Linked DNA regions of Homo sapiens: region 1 is linked to region 2. The links are contacts of gene promoters, found by promoter capture Hi-C in human tissues and cell types (Jung and others, 2019). All regions are on one chromosome and are shown on one strand. The core of a region is centred on a gene start or on the middle of the fragment in contact, and the rest is flanking DNA. Distances in the headings are between cores, read along the strand shown.

What was found. Contacts are between HindIII fragments. The study calls those that stand out against the background at their distance.
Region 1: a fragment that was not itself captured here is called in contact with the fragment with the promoter of FUT9 in region 2 in 1 of the 25 tissues and cell types used here (dorsolateral prefrontal cortex).

What each region holds. Positions count from the first base shown.
Region 1 is chr6:96,071,530-96,074,229 of GRCh38, reverse strand. The region is part of intron 1 of FUT9 (fucosyltransferase 9); the gene reads right to left. Among named protein-coding and RNA genes, the nearest start is that of FUT9, 57 kb to the right of the region's middle. The HindIII fragment of the contact is 7,127 bases long and covers 1-2,700 here.
Region 2 is chr6:96,014,671-96,017,370 of GRCh38, reverse strand. It overlaps FUT9 (fucosyltransferase 9), which reads right to left and starts at 1,397. Exons shown (of 3, transcript NM_006581.4): 1 at 1,159-1,397. LOC107986626 (a long non-coding RNA gene) reads left to right here and starts at 1,938. Exons shown (of 3, transcript XR_001744263.2): 1 at 1,938-2,084. The HindIII fragment of the contact is 1,974 bases long and covers 677-2,650 here.

The sequences.
Region 1 (2,700 bases), core at 152-2,651, 57 kb before region 2:
AATAGGCCACGTGCAGCTGCCAGGCAGGCTGCATTCTCAGGGATGGGGACACTGTGGATATTGTTTGGTGCAGTACAAATTTTATGTTAAAAACCAACTACTGCTAATATTCGGTGAGATAATAAAATAACAGGTTTTTAGAACTGGAATCATCTGGGCTAATGGTTTGCAACCTTCTCACTAGTAGATATTTTTTATTATTTTAATTGCAGGCCCTAAATTTTAAAAGATTTTAAATCAGTAAACAAGCCGTAGTTATACTGTTATTTTGTAATACTGAAAATCTAAATGGAATTTTAGTTTAGTTTGAAAACTCCATTACTACCTGTGGGGATTCAAGTTGGGAATGAATGAATGAGTCTTTCTTCATTCCACAGATGACAGATGTTGTGTCAGGATGAGGGTTGTACAAGGTTACACAGCTAATGAGAGGCAGCACTGGATATAGAACAATTTATAAGGAGGGAAACAATTTGTTAAAGCACCATCTTGGGCCCCTCATTAGCATCTCGCGCCTTTAATGTTTCTGTTCCCCATCGCCCTTTCAAGCCTCTATTCTTCTAGCTCTGCTTCTCATGCTGTGCAAAGATTTTAATTAATAGCAAGATACTGATAATGTTCAATCCATTTCTCAACCTGACCTCACTCTTGATATTTAGACCTGCTTATCCTATATCCTATTGAATACTACACACTCACTGGCCTTTAGGCCTTTACTTGCGTTGCATGTTTATCAGTAATACCATCCTTTATCTTTTCAATGCTTTTTTTTTTTTTTTTTGAGACGGAGTCTCACTCTGTCTCCCAAGCTGGAGTGCAGTGGCATAATCTCAGCTCACTGCAACCTCAGCCTCCTGGGTTCAAGCGACTATTCTGCCTCAGCCTCCCGAGTAGCTGGGACTACAGGGGTGTGTCACCACGCCTGGCTAATTTTTGTATTTTTAGTAGAGATGAGGTTTCACCATATTGACCAGGCTGGTCTCAAACACCTGACCTTGTGATCCACCTGTCTTGGCCCCCCAAAGTGCTGAGATTACGGGCATGAGCCACCACACCTGGCCAATGTTTCTTCTAATGACAGTTCAAATCTCTTCTTCTCTGTGAGACATCTGATTTCCATCCTCCCACTATATCCAGGTAGAAATAACGTGGTGTTCCCTGTGCTCACATTGCAAGTCAGAGCATTTGTTCTGTTTTCTGATTGTTTGTTCATGTGTATCTCTCCAGCTAGATGGAAAGACTCCTAAAGGTAGGAGGAGTGTCTGCTTCTTCTCTGTAACTCCAGTGCCCTACATATGCTGGCTCTGACATATGCCTGTCAAATAAGGCTTTATGTATGGTGCATAATTACTATCTGCTCAATATACTAGAAAGTATCCATTAGCCACATTTACTCATGCTTAGAGTAACTATAAACTTTACATAGCTATGTTTGTGCAATTTTTATTAACATCAAAGTACTTCAGTTAAAATATAGCACAAAATGACAAACTTTAAAAAATCTTCTTTCACTAATGAATTAACCAGTGAACTTCATTATTCAGATAGAAAAAAAAGTTGCCTTTTTCTATCTGAATAAGGCAAAAATTCATGGAACACAAAGGCATTATAAAAATAACCATGTGCATACCCCATAGAGGTACGTGCCAAGCTTAGTGAATTGTGGACATCATTATGGACTAGTAATTTTATGGAATAGTAATTTTAAACATGATCCTCTCCCTTGTTTTGTTTTTAAAGATTCCGACAAGTGAGTATATAGAGAGGAAAAAAATGCTCTTTCAGTGTATTTGACAAAGATATATTTGTGATGCAATCTACAAAGTGATGCAGAGAATAATAGGAGAAAGATACAATTTTTTACATCATTAGTGTTTTTAATGCACATTTTCCATATTTATAATCAGTCATTCCTATGCTCTGACTGCTTAGAAATAAGGTGGTACGAAATAAGATAAGAGATATGGAGAGAGGGTAGTGTAGTGGTTCTGAGTCTGGGATTTATAGTCAATTGGGTTTGAATCTTGACTCTGCTACTTGCAGCTATATGACCTCAGCAAGTTAATTAACATCTCTAAACCCCTAGTTTCTCATTAAGAAATGGAGTCTATAATAGAACCTATTTCTTTTCTTTTCTTCTTAAATAGAGATAAGGTCTTACTATATTGCCTAGGAACCCAGCCTATAGAATGTATTTCATGAAGTCATTGCAAGTATTAAAAAGAATAATTCATAGAGAGCATTTTGCACCACATCTAGTTTAATAGTCACAATAAATAAAATTAACTATTATTGGGCTGGGTGTGGTGGCTCACGCCTATAATCCAAGTACTTTGGGAAGCTGAGATGAGAGCATTGCTTGAGCCCAGGAGTTTGAGACCAGCCTGGGTAACATAGTGGAACCCTGTCTCTACAAAAGAAAAAAAAACTTAAATTTTAATTTTAAATATTAACTATTATCATTTATATAATTATTGATTGGCTGTTGTTAAAATTTTGGTCATAGATGTTTAGGGATAGAAGAGATCTTAGTGACAATTTTTAAAAATGCCGTGAGTCTTGCTCCTTTGTTGATGTAGTAATGGTTAAACTGCCATAGCTTCCAGGTATTCAGATTTGCAGCCCATTGCTCTTTATACTCTTCACTAAAACGACATTTAAGCTTCATTTTTAAAATAATTGATTTGCCATGGGCAAACC
Region 2 (2,700 bases), core at 148-2,647:
GACTACTGTTCTAAGAAAACTTCTACAGCAATACCGTCTGGTGCTAAGATACTACACAACTCTGGAAGCACCCAAATAGTGCAGGAGCTTCTTGGTACAATGTTTTCTAATCCTCCTATATCGCTCTTTTAGCCACTACACCTAAAGAAAAATAAGAGCTTTGGCTTATTGCAATTTCAAAGAAGATTTTAAAGGGTAAGTTTGGTGCTACTCTCATCTCCTTCAAGAAAAAGCTTCTTATCCTCAAGAGTTGCTGAGCTTTTGATAGTGTTGTTGCTGAAAGAGATTCACCACCTAGGCAAGTCCTCCGTTCTTAACCTGGAAGTAAGACCAATTCCGCAGGAACAGGTAAAATAGGTGTATTTCCTGTACTCAGCTAAGACGCCTCTCAATGAACAGAACAAACCTAAGCAATGCAAATAGTTCTGCGCTTTAAAACAACAATAACAAAAAGTTTGTTTCCAAAGGGTTTGGTTTTTGTCTTTATTTTTTCACGCTTGATAATACCCTTAACAGCCCAGGTGCTGAGTAACACACAAAGTAACTGTACAGAAACCAGGATCACAGCGTGTCTGTGTCAATTTCCTGAGGTGACTGTCAGAAAATCTGGACAGGCACCATTGTGTAGAGGGAATGAGGTCAGAATTCACTAAGGACCATTCACCCTGGGAAGGAATAGGACGGGACAGTCGGGCTCGAGAGCCAGGCTTTGGGAAAGGAGAGAAGGTGGGTCAGGGAGGACTTTGTGGAGAAGGCTTTGTCAGCGCGAGATCGGGTGAAGGGTGGCAGATAGGGGCGTTTGTGCACTGGCATAAGGTGGGAACGCAGGGACAGTAACAGTAGAGATGACCCTGTTTGGGGTGACCAGAGGGTCGGGGCCATCTACTGCTGCTAGTGTGGGAGCCTGGGGGCTGGAAGGTGAGGCGGGACTGCGAGCTGCAGGCAGCTGTCCCCAAGACGGAGAGGGGTTCAGGTTGCCAGCAGGTGGAGTTGAAATCAAACATCCCCTTGGGGACCACAGAGCAACACCCTCCCTGGACCCTCTGCCTGGAGGACGGGGAATCACAGCAGCTGGTTTGGGGTGCCTCCCAAACCAAAAGATGTTCTCTCCGCGCCAAGCTTTGACGCCCGACCCCCTGCACTCTCCCGCCTACTCACCGGTCCTAGGGGTAAAGCGCCATCCGGGGCGCTCGCGAGGGCTGCGCGGCGCAGGAGGCAGGCAGGGCCAGGCGGCGGTGGCGGCGCTGTCCTAAGAGCGCGACTGGGGCTGGGGGACACCGAGGCAGCGACAGCGGCGGGGGCGCGGGGAGCTGCAGGGGAGAGCAGTGAATCTGGAGCTGCTGCGCCGCGCGCGCTCTCTGCCCATCTCCGGCTTCGCTGAAGCTGCTACAGCTACTGCCGCTGGAGGGGAGGGAGGCGAGGGGGAGGGGAGGAGGCACGCGGTAGGGAGGGACGGAAGAGCAGGAAGGGTGGGGGGTGAGCAAGGGAAGAGGGGGAGATGGTCGCCCAGAGTTGAGGGGGTGGGGAGGGAGGCGCGCAGGAGCCCAGCAGAGGTTCCCACTAAATGAGCTTGGGAGGGGAAATGTAAGATGAGGCGATGGGTCTCTCCCCCGCCCTCCTTCTACCCTACCCTCCTTCCCCCTTCGCGCCCTTTCCTTGGGCTCTTCCTCTCGTGGCTCAGGCTGGGGGTTACCCAAGCTTGGCAGCAGCCGCGGCTTCAGCGCGCTGGTGCGAGTGCTGAGTCCGGGAGGCAGCCTCTACAGCTCTCCCCGCCACCGGCCTGTGGCACCTGTGCGCGCACACTGCCGCCCGCTCCATTGCGGCGGCTCCTGGACCAGGATCCGCAGCCTGTCGCCCTCCTTCTCTCCTCTTTCTGGGCAGATTATGATCCTACATGTGCATCCATGACATCTGTATAGTCCCCCATTGGTGTTTGTTTCCCTGGGCGCTCTTTGGCACTGGCTGTCCCGCCAGAAGGCGCCAGCAGGGAGCTCAATGCCGGCAACCATCGCCTGCCCCTTGGAGCTGTTGCCTGGGCAGGGGTGGCCTTGGTTGTTTACCGCCGGGGTTGACCAGCTAACGAGGTAAAAAAAGAAATTTATACATATATCGTTTTAACCCAATTGCCTCGGACCGTGTTCTCAATGATCTAGGAAGGTTGTAAGTGTGAAGGGCATAGTGACAGCCCATTACCTTCTGTCTTGGCTTCCTTCCTCCCTTTTCTCAACATTCTAAAAACCTAGGGATTGAAAGATCTCTGAATCTCTTTATCACAGAGCTTTTCATTTCCCCCTGCATTTTCCTAGGGTTGGTCCCGCTTTCGTAGTGTGGATTTTCGTTTCCTCTACTTGACTCTAAATCAATCCTGTATATTCGCAAACTACAAAGAGGCGCATGCAAATAGATACTGTACTGAGGGCAGATACACGCGCGAGATCCAGAGGGTGAGTTAACACACATTCAGTAAATATAAAAACAAGTGGAACATTATTAACTGATTTCTGTGAGCCGTAATTTTATTTTATAATTTTCACGTGGTAATTGGGGATAGACAGGGAGCAAGTAGATTATGTGTCTAAAAGATATGACTAGAAAAAAAAGTCTGGTAAAACTCTCCTCAAATAACATAACACATAAAGTGAGCTAATTATTCCCAGACATTCCCAGGAGGGAAAGAGATTCTGATTTTGTTTGGCTGGC